4 separate regions of the Homo sapiens genome follow, and all the other regions are linked to region 4. The links are contacts of gene promoters, found by promoter capture Hi-C in blood cells and fetal thymus (Javierre and others, 2016). All regions are on one chromosome and are shown on one strand. Each heading gives the region's core, a stretch centred on a gene start or on the middle of the fragment in contact. The rest is flanking DNA. Distances are from core to core; before and after follow the strand shown.

Evidence for each region. Contacts are between HindIII fragments. The CHiCAGO score rates a contact against its expected background, and 5 or more counts as called.
Region 1: a fragment that was not itself captured here is called in contact with the fragment with the promoter of ROPN1 in region 4 in 1 of 17 cell types (M2 macrophages); the score reaches 5.6 in M2 macrophages.
Region 2: a contact is called between a fragment that was not itself captured here and the fragment with the promoter of ROPN1 in region 4, in 2 of 17 cell types (endothelial precursors and M1 macrophages). The highest score is 5.7, in endothelial precursors.
Region 3: a fragment that was not itself captured here is called in contact with the fragment with the promoter of ROPN1 in region 4 in 1 of 17 cell types (M1 macrophages); the score reaches 7.0 in M1 macrophages.

What each region holds. Positions count from the first base shown.
Region 1 is chr3:124,535,036-124,537,735 of GRCh38, reverse strand. The region is part of intron 33 of KALRN (kalirin RhoGEF kinase); the gene reads right to left. Among named protein-coding and RNA genes, the nearest start is that of MIR6083, 160 kb to the right of the region's middle. The HindIII fragment of the contact is 5,865 bases long and covers 1-2,700 here.
Region 2 is chr3:124,555,119-124,557,818 of GRCh38, reverse strand. The region is part of intron 33 of KALRN (kalirin RhoGEF kinase); the gene reads right to left. LOC105374076 (a long non-coding RNA gene) reads left to right here. Exons shown (of 4, transcript XR_001740872.2): 3 at 2,598-2,700. Among named protein-coding and RNA genes, the nearest start is that of UMPS, 170 kb to the left of the region's middle. RefSeq lists a silencer at 1,938-2,129. The HindIII fragment of the contact is 294 bases long and covers 1,242-1,535 here.
Region 3 is chr3:124,512,037-124,514,736 of GRCh38, reverse strand. The region is part of intron 33 of KALRN (kalirin RhoGEF kinase); the gene reads right to left. Among named protein-coding and RNA genes, the nearest start is that of MIR6083, 140 kb to the right of the region's middle. The HindIII fragment of the contact is 213 bases long and covers 1,252-1,464 here.
Region 4 is chr3:123,990,759-123,993,556 of GRCh38, reverse strand. It overlaps ROPN1 (rhophilin associated tail protein 1), which reads left to right and starts at 1,433. Exons shown (of 6, transcript NM_001317774.2): 1 at 1,433-1,635. RefSeq lists an enhancer at 1,145-1,661. The HindIII fragment of the contact is 3,137 bases long and covers 40-2,798 here.

The DNA.
Region 1 (2,700 bases), core at 25-2,524, 540 kb before region 4:
ACAGATCCTGCACGCCAAATCTCACCTATGCTTGCTGATTCTCAGACAGAGCCAACATTTTCCCAACTTCTTGACTTTTATTTATGATGTTTTTCTCAGCCTGGAATAGTTCCTTCCTTCCTTTCCCAAACCACACTTCTGTCATCTTCTGGAAATCCTTTTCCATCCTCGAGGCCAGTTCAAAGGCCACCTCATTCACGAATCGCCTCCATAAGCAGCTCCTGTCTGCATCATCACCACCAGCAGTTCCCAGTAACATCTCCCTACCTTTTCACTCTAGCAGAATGATATTTGTATCTCTATTCCAGCACATTTTTTGCCTTGGATGGTATTTGTCTACATTCCTGTACCTTTCACTGGATTGAAAGTATCGTGGTTTTAAAAAATTTCTCTTGGCCAGGCATGGTGGCTCACACCTGTAATCCCAGTACTTTTGGAGGCCAAGGCAGGAGGATCACCTTAGGTCGGGAGTTCAAGACCAGCCTGGCCAACATGGTGAAACCCCATCTCTACTAAAAATACAAAAATTAGCTGGGCGTAGTGGCACCTGCCTGTAGTCCCATATACTCAGGAGGCTGAGGCATGAGAATTGCCTGAAACCGGGAGGTGGAGGTTGCAGTGAGCCGAGATTGTGCCACTGCATTCCAGCCTGGGTGACAGAGTGAGACTCTATCTTAAAAAAAAATTCTCTTATGGAGTAGGTTTTCAATTATTGTCAACTGGAGTTTGCTGAAGTACATGGAAAGTGCTGTACTTCGCCTCATCATAAATTTGAAACTTCTACATCCCCTGCATGAAGATGTGGATTCTCTTATGTTTACTTTTTAAATTTCACATCTTTTTTAGTGTTTTAATTGAACTTTCTCAAGTCCTTTCAGAAATAAGTGTAGAGTGTATATTTTAAATGCCTTTTACTGGTTTATAACTTTGGGCTTTTCATTGTGGCATCATCAATTTTGAGGAAAATGTCTCATAACTCTTTAAAAATTGATCTGTCTTAAAATATATTTTAAATGTTAAGAAGGAAAAATACAACGCTTCTTTATGATATATGGAATAAGTTAGGAGTTATGAGTCTCAAGGATACCTTTGCTATACATTAATACTCTTCTGCACAAATAAAGTAACATCTTTTTCTGTACAAAGTAAGTACACAATGTGGAGGAGGAAACTAATTAGATATGTACAATGGATTGCTACTAGCAATTTTTCTGGTAATACAAAATAGAATGGAGGCTGGACATGGTGGCTCACGCCTATAATCCCAGCATTTTGGGAGGCTGAGGCAGGCGAATCACCTGAGGTCAGGAGTTCAAGACCAGCCTGGCCAACATGGCAAAACCCCATCTCTACTAAAAATACAAAAATTAGCCGGACGTGGTGGCTCATGCCTGTAATCCCAGCTACTCAGGAGGCTGAGGCAGGCGAATCACTTGAACCTGGGAGGCAGAGGTTGCAGTGAGCTGAGATTGCACCATTGCACTCCAGCCTTGGTGACAAGTGTGAAACTCCATCTCAAAAAAAAAAAAAAAAAAAAAAGAGTATGGATGGCAAAGACTTGCAAGTGCCTCCCAGAGTCCATCGTGCCCTTACTTCTTAGTAACGAAGACTCATTTTGGGTGGCTGGGGGAGACACATTGTTACCCAGTAAAAGACTACATTTCCCTGGTTCCCTTGCAGCTATTGCAGGCATATTATCACACTCTGGCCAATGGGATGTAACTCTTAGTGTTTGTTGCAATGGTCTTTTTAATATGGGGGATGGCACATTTTCCCTTCCCTTCCAACCTGCTCCCTGGAACACCATCCATCTAGGATATGAGAATTAGACTAAACCCTGGGAATGGTGAAGGAATCAGTTAGAAGGAGCCGGGTGCCTGAGGACTTTGTGGATCTTCTTTACCAGTCCTGGACCGCTTACCTGCAGTTATCTGTTATGTGAAAGAAAAATAAACTTCTCTGTTATTTAAGCCGGTGTCACCTGGGGCTTTTCTTTTATATGCAGCCAAGCCTTCTGATCCTGATCTAGATGACAGAGTCTTATGAAGGTAGACAAGGAAAGGTTGGAGATGTTTTTTAATCTCTGTGTTTTTCTATTCTGATCAGAAGAGAAAAGAAAATTCAAAAGCAGCTTGGATCAAAAAACCATATCTCATTGACAAAGGAGACAGAGAGTGAGGGGAATACCAGAGAGCTAATTATGAGTGCTCAGCCGACAGCAATGCCTGTGACACTCCTGATCTGAAACCCAAGTGACCAGACAGATTGAAGCAGACTGAAGGGGCAAGTTTTCATATCAGGTTGTGCTGTAGCACTCTTGGAAAACTTAAGTATAGCTGGTATAAGCAGAGCCAGAAAGTCTCTGCCTAAAAGAAAAGATGAGAAACAAGCTGTAAATTGGTGTAAGAAGTGAATACAGGGAACACTTGGAGTGACTGATGATGACTGAGTTTTGTGAGCATATCTGTACATAATCTTTTTCCAAATTTATTTCATTTTATATATTTTAATATATTCAAGGGTGTTTACAAGTTGCTAGTGTTTTAAAAAAAAAAACTTCTTTATAGGAAATATCCCCCCATCCACCTCATTTACTATATAATCATGCACTGTTTTTTAATTTTAATTTTTATATTTTTTGAGACAGGGTCTCATAGGCAGAAACAGAGCCAAGTTTAGTCTAGGATTTATTATTCCCCA
Region 2 (2,700 bases), core at 139-2,638, 560 kb before region 4:
ACTTGGATCTGATACTCTTGACAGAGGGGGAGCTGTGCCCAAGAGCGCCCATCAGATAAGTCCGACCTCCTCTTCCTCCCCTGGCTGCCTGCCCTGCAACTTCTTCCATCTGATCATCTGATTCCTCCACAACTCTTAGCCAGCCTTAGGCACCAAGTTCACATGAATTAACATCTACATATGAACAGCCTCACAGGAGGCCAGAGCTGGCTGGCAAAAAATGTAAAGCTGGAGCATATCTACTTGGCACAGTTTCAAGGGCACCGTGAAGTCCTGCCAACTCCTGTGCAAAAACTGTCTTTCTCTCCTCCCCTCAACACTCCCTGCACCTGCTGCTAATGCCTGGAATTCCTCCATCAGAAAGTGATTTCATTTAATTAGGTAATGTCCCTTAACATGAAACACCTCAAACCAGACTATGATTCCCTTCCAAATGCAAAAAGATGAGATGCACCACACAAGTGACATGCAGCTGTACTTTAAGCATGAAAATGCTCATAATAGCATTTTTTCAAATGAAGAAAATTTTACAACAATAACATCACCGCCCCCCTGCCCCAATACTAAAATATAAAAATCTACCCAGTGGGAAGTGGATGAGGGTTAAAAAGCTACCTATTGGGTACTATGCTCACTATCTAGGTGACGGGATCATTTGTACCCAAAACCTCAGCATCACACAATATACCTAGGTGACAAAACTGCATGTGTAACCCTTGAATCTAACATGGAAGTTGAAATTACTTAAAAAACCTAACAGGAAGGGAATGGTTAAATAATTATGATATATCTACTAAGTGAGTAATTAATTATGCAGCCATTAGATTATTTATAAAGCTTTGTAATAGCTTAAATACTTATATAAAGTAAAAAATTTTTTAAGAGGACAAGACGTACAGTTGTATATATAACTGTGTGAACATCATCAACAACTTAGCAACCCTATTCATAGGAAACAGAAGGAAAATTCGTTGAAATGTTAACACTGGTATTGTTGGGTGGTGCACTCTGGGTAATTTTCCCTCTGGCTTTCTGATCTCCAGTATTGCCCAGTGTTTCTCACATAAGTGCTGCTTTATAATGAAAGTAATGATAACATCAACAATAACAATCTCTAAAACAAATCAACAAAGGTAATGGGGAAAAATGCAAATATTTCAAGGAGGTGTAACACTTTGAGGGGAGAAATGGGGGAGCGGATAGACAGTTTCCAATTTTGCTCTAGGGCCACTATAGAAGCTTCAGGAAAGCCCCAAATTGCTGATGATGCTTTAGTATAGCTGCTTCAAATCCTTCCTCTACTAAACTTCTGTCCTCGCCCTACTATAAAACTCTGAAGGCTTCTCCAGAAACTAGGTTCCATTAAAAGAGCTTAGTGCTGTGCTTTTATCTTGAATTGATTATAATTTTTTTTTTAGCAAATGTGTAAAGCAATGTCTGGGCATTTAGGAACATTGTCGTGGAGCTCTGGGATTTCATCAGTTTGTATGTTGGAAGCCCATGGAGCTGCCAGGTCCAATTAAGAGGCTAAAGCTTACAATTTACTTTATCTTTGCTTGCTGGAACTGTGGCTTCTACTAACTGCAACTGAAGGAGCTGTTTGGTTTAGTTGTTTCCCATGGTGTGTAAATGAGCACCATGGTCCCCTGGTCTTGCAGGTCTTGTGAATTGCATAGTAATTAATAGTGGGAAGAATGCAGGAGTGGGAATCAGGAGGCCTTGGTGCTGGTGCAGGTTTTACCCATGTATGACACTCAGCAAACCCCTTCCCTTCTTCATACCTAAATTTCCTCATTTTTAAGATGAGGAAATTGGACTCCAGGGCTGCTTCCAGTTTTAATATTTGATAAATAGAGTAGTTTCTATATTGAATCTCTAACACACAGTGCTACTGAATTTTCTTGAGCACTTATCATTAATGTGTTGCCTTGTTTACATAAATTATGTGTTACTCTTATCCTATGTAAGATACAGAAGAGCAGAGCATTCCGTCTTGCTCATGGTCCTATCTCCCGAGTTTAGAGCAATGCCTGGCACACAGCAGGTGATAAATATCTGTTGAATGCGCGAGTGAATAAATTCCATGAATTATTGCCTGATATATAACTGAGATGCCTAGTTACAATGTCTGAGAGGTGTCTCCCATTGGCTGCCCACCTATTCCTATTAGTATCTTACAGATAACTGTTAATTTTTTTTTCTCAGCCCCTTTCAACCAAATTTATCTTGCCCTTTAATCATGTGACTATATCTCCATGAATTCCTAAACCTGACAAAAACAACATAAGGTGTTAGTGGGGGGAGACACAAATCCACAAGAACAAAGAGAATGGGAGGTAGTAAACAAGATAACTTTATTTATTTATTTATTTATTTATTTATTTATTTATTTATTTATTTATTTTGGGACAGAGTCTCGCTCTGTCACCCAGGCTGGAGTGCAGTGGTGCGATCTCCGCTCACTGCAAGCTCTGCCTTCCGGGTGCACGCCATTCTCCTGACCTCGTGATCCGCCCACCTCGGACTCGCAAAGTGCTGGGATTACAGGCGTGAGCCACTGCGCCGGGCTGAGAACTTTTTTTTTTCTTTAATGATAGAAAGCAGATGCAAGAATGATACTGACTTGGTAGAATGAGAAGATGAGATTCAAGCTCCTGCCAGTTATCTCTGCTCAACCCTCAGACAGCCCCAGGGAGTGGA
Region 3 (2,700 bases), core at 109-2,608, 520 kb before region 4:
TTTAGTGGACTTGGCCAGTGGAAGGCAGTGTGCATAATGGATATCAGAAACACCTGGGTTCAAATCTCATCTCTGCCACTTTCTGGTTGTGTGACCCTGGGTAAATTATTCAACCTCTTGGAGTGACGTTTTCCTCATCTGCAAAATGAGGATAATGATACTTACCTTGAAGAATTGTTGTGGGAATGACAGGAGAGAGTACATGTAAAATGCCAGGCTCATATTAGGAGTTCAGTAAGAAAGGCAGTGGTTACTGTTAGTTGCTTAACCTCTGGATGGCTTGCTTGCAGGCAGCCTTTGTGATTTTCTCTGCCTGCCCAATTATAGCAGTGACTTCTTAGGGAAAGGCCTGTATCTCTTCCATTAGATCGGGTGGGGAATTCTGTCCTTGGCAGGGACTTTTAGGGAAAAGCCTGTATCTCTTCCATTAGATGGGGTGGGGGATTCTGTCCTTGGCAGGGACTTTATGTATTCTGTGTTCCTTCATTACCTACAGAGGAACTCTGTGAATACTATATTAACTGGTTTTAAAAAGGCTTTCTCCACCTCAGGTTTCAAACCAGAGCCCAGACTGGAAATATCACTTGATGCAGCCATCAGAATTAAAAACTGAGATATACAGTAACAAAAATATTAAATACTGCATAGAGAGAAGACATAAATTAATACCATGAAACACACTTTCAGGTCAGCTCTTTTCAAGGACTGATTTTTGCGACCTTCTTATTTGTTTTATCATGCATCCTACTCTGCCTGAAGGGTCTCCTTTTGAATCTAGATGTTTGTGTTTGCTGCTCATGTTGACCCCAGGGCTCTTCTTCCCAAATTCTATAAGGAGGTTACTGATAAAGACAGGCTGGCTGAGCGGTCAGCGATGAGCAGGAAGGCCTCGTAGGTGGTGCGGAGGTATGCCCACCTGTTATGCTGCCTCCTGAGTGACAGGCTGGCCACACCCACCCCAGTGCAAAGACATCAGCCACAGCCAGCAACATTCAATCTATGTTTTTCCTCTTGCCATTTTTCCCTCTGCTCAGGGAACCCTCTGAGAGAACTCTGAACCTAGGCAGTGTGGGAGAGACATCCTGGAAAATACTTGTTTCATGTCATTTTTTGTTTGTTTCCAATTTAGAAAGGTTAGAAATAGTTTCTTTACCAGAAAACCTTCCCTCTGTCCTTAGACTGTGGGAGAGGAGGGAAGAGAGGGTAATGGGTTCGGGGGAGCTGTCTTGACCCACCTCCTGTTTAAAAGCTTGCTGCTCACACAGTGGCAAACGCTTTCCCTAGTGGGCGCTCTCTGTGTCCTCCTGACCTGGGTCCCCGTGTCCCCATGCTGAGTCACTCTGGGAACCCCTCCCTCTGGAATCACAGAAAGTAAACACCAAACTGGAAACACGTCTGCTTCTCTCTCCCACTGCATATCTCTTCATGAAAATGTCTCATGAATTTGAAGCTATATTTCAAGCTTTTCCTCACCTTTTCCACAGGTCTCTAGACTGCGGGGTTTTGGGGTAAACCTTCAAGAACTTCTTATCCCCTTCCTGCTCCCAGCCCCCTACCCCCTGAATTTTCTTTCTCTTTCTTTTCACAGTCCAAGGCTCCTGACCTTCACAACCAAACAAAGTTGCCAGTTCTTCAGCTCACAACCTCTGCCAGTCCTGCAAGTCAGCCTGAATTCACTGTCTGACTGCCTTCTTGAATCCCAAGGTCCTGAGAGCGGATCACCCTGTTCTCTGCTAGGCACCTGCTCGTCCCTCACCCTTGGTTCATGCAGAGGGTGGACCCCAGCAACTATCTGATAATCTTGTTCCTTTCTGGTCTTTAAAAAATAATATCTATTAGGTTTTTGTTAAATTTATTATGTCATGTTGTAAGACATAATACAAAAACTAAAAAAGACACCACCCAGAAATACCCATTATTTACATTCTGGTGTATTTTCTTCATATATACATATATGCATACATACATGCACATACGTATGTATGTACATATGCATAAACACACATACAAACACACATGTGCACATACATATTCCCCCTTCATGTTTTTTTTTAAATTTTTAATTGTTTTTATTTTTTATTTTTCCAAGACAGAGACTTGCTCTGTTTCCCAGGCTGGAGTGCAGTGGTGTGATCTCAGCTCACTGCAACCTCTGCCTCTGTGGTTCCAGCAATTCTACTGCCTCAGCCTCCTGAGTAGCTGGGATTACAGGCGTGTGCCACCATGCCTGGCTAATTTTTTGTATTTTCAGTAGTGGCAGGGTTTCACCACGTTGGCCAGGCTGGTCTCAAACTCCTGACCTCATGATCCACCCGCCTCAGCTTCCCAAAGTGTTGGGATTATAGGCGTAAGCCACCGCACCTGGCCACCCCCTTCATGTTTAAAAGCAAAATTAGTCTTTCATATTGAGAGAGAATAGGAAGTGGGGGCAAAAATAACTCCAGGCTACAGCTCAGGTAAGCCCTGTATTGCGCCAGCGACAGTCATGAGCTTGTGGAGGACCCGACTTACTAGTTTATGTCACTGGCCTAATGGCCAGGGAAAATATCCAAGTTCTTGCCCCTCAAACCACATAGATGAATACTTCTTACAGAGTATATGGGAAACACACTGAGGAACACACACACAAATTCATAAATATACACAAACCAGAGATATATACATAAAACATATCATTCAAATTACTGTTTGTGCTCTTTC
Region 4 (2,798 bases), core at 184-2,683:
GGAGAGACAAAGGCTTTCATCTCACAAACAGAGAAAGCTTTGAAGGGCCTGGGTGAACTAATCTATTTAGACTAATACACACTGTTGTATAAATGGAATGAAGGATTAGATGATGCAATGGGCCCCTTTAAAATAGGTGTGAAGTGACACGGGATGTAGCAGAGAAAGATGGGGCTTTTCTTGCCTCCTTGGGTGCTTAAAACGAACAGTCTTGAGACCAGGTGCGGTAGCTCAAACCTGTAATCCCAATACTTTGGGAGACCAAGGCAGGTGGATCACTTGAGCCCAGGGATTCAAGACCAGCCTGGGCAACATGGCAAAACCCCGTTTATAAAAATATAAAAATTAGCCTGTCATCGTGGCAAGCACCTGCAGTCTCAGCTACTTGGGAGGCTGAGGTGGGAGGATTGCTTAGACCTAGGAGATTGAGGCTGCAGTGAGTCATGATTACCCCATTGCACTCCAGCCTGGGCAACAGAGCAAGACCCTGTCTCAAAACACACACACACACACACACACACACACACACACACACACACACACACACACAGTCTTGAAACCGGAAGACCTGGAGTAAAGTTGGGCCCTGAGCCCTACTGCCAGCTGTTCGATCACAGGCAAAATTACTCGAAGCCTTGAGCCTGTTTTTTATTTCCAAAGCGAAGGTAATACCTACCTTCAGAGTTTACTGTGAAACTTTGATGTCATCATGTTTGTAAAAGTGCCCTGGCACAGTGACCACATTCTACCCTATAAATATTTTCTATCTTTCCCTGTTGTCCCCAGGCATCTCAGGCTCTGTTCCTATCCACTCCATGCCCCTTTCTTAGCATTATAAGGTCAAGAGTGAGGAATCTGGGACCACGCAACCCAGATTCAGATCCTGACTCTGTCACTTGCTGACTGTCATCTTGGACAAGTTTAACCTCTCTGTGCTCAGTTCCCTCATCTGTAAAAATGGGGATAACAATAGTACTTGCCTCATGGGGTGACAGTAAGGATGAAATGAGTTCATGTGTGTAATGCACTTAGAACAATTCCTGGCACCAAAAACTCATTGTAAGAAGTGTTGTTACTATGATTCCTGAGGAATTCTCACCTGTCCACTTTCCACAAGCCGAAAGATCAAGCTCCACTTCTGCCCTCTCACCTACAAAAGCGCACCGTCAATGGCTACACATTCCGCCCCACCCCCAACGCCCCCAGCCCGGGTTTCCTAACGTCCCCAGCCCAGTCCTTAACCCTCCAGGCCGTCTGGTCCTTCCACCACCAGCAAAGCCCAAAACAGCTTTCAGCGTCCCCTAGCAGCGCCCTAGCGGGACCCTGGGAACCCGCCGCTGCAGGAGAGGCGGGGCGGCTCTGTGACGTCGCGCCCGGCGCTACCCCTGGTGACCTGGCAGCGGAGCCCGCGCAGGGTTTGCCAGGCGAAGGCGGAGCGCTAACGTCTAACGCTAACGGCGGTCGTGCCCCGCCGCTGCTGTCACCCCCGGCCGCTGCTGCCCTCCCCGCCGAGGTTCTACTGCTCTCCTTCTTAAGAAGGGTGGGAGGCACTCGGTCTCTCCCCACACCTCTCGCCTGAGGCCAGGCGCCAGGTGTCGCCTGAAGCCAGACAGCCGGTTTGGGAGCGAGCCTGAGGTAGCCACCCCGAGGGGAAGTGGAGGGAGGGCAGGGCTCTGAGCGCCCCGAGGGCTGCGCTGGTCTGAGGGAGGAGCCCTGCCGGACGCCCCCTGGATTCTGAGCCTCTCCTTGTTCACAGGGCAAGGGGAAGGCAAGGGGATCTTCAAGAGAATGTGACTGTGGGGGATTATGGCTTTCTGGCCAATTTGTGTGCGTATTTTGTACCCAGAATACTATTATACGGTTTCTTACCCGGAGGACAGTGGTTGGGAGGCTCAAGAGTTTGGAATCAGAGCCCTCCACCGAGGAGCCACACCTCTGCTTTTTCATCAGCGACAGGGATATAAAAATACCTCTGGGTGAATTGTCATGTGGATGTCATGGGCATACCTAGCACTTCATAGACTCCTATCACACATTATTTTATACCTAGCACTTCATAGACTCCTGTCAGGCATTATTTTATACCTGGCACTTCATAGACTCCTATCACATATTATTTTATACCTAGCACTTCATAGACTCCTATCACGCATTATTTTATACCTAGCACTTCATAGACTCCTATCACGTGTTCATTTTATAGCTAGCACTTCATAGACTGCTATCACGCATTCATTTTTACTAGTACCTATTGAACACTAAGTTCCAGGCACTGGGCTAGGCACTGGGATGGTGTGGTGAGCAAAAACTGACCAGTCCTGCCGTGGAGTTTGCTGGGGGAGACACATGTTACTCAAAGAATCACACTAAGGATAGGTAAGTGATGCTCTGGAAGGGTATGTACAATGGAACTGACAGGGTAATCAGGGAAGGTTAAGCAGACCTCCAAAGGAAGAATCAACCTGTTAAGAGGAGGAGAATGTATTCCAAACAAGAGTAACCACATCCCAAACCCACCATCTCCAATTCCAAACCCAAACAGGGATGTGCAGTTGCCTGTGCTTGGTTCCAAGTGATACTCATAGAAACCCTCTGAGATTCTGCCCTGGAGCCTTTCATTCATGTTACTGGAGACTTTCATTTATGAAACGGAAGCCCTGTTTAGCCCATACCAATAAAACCAAGTGAGAGATCCCTGAAACAAGGCTATAGTCTATTTTAAGACCTACATTCTTCAGCACTTGGCAGGTATATGTTGGCCTCCATTTTACATTGAGAGGCATGTAGGTTTCACTTAG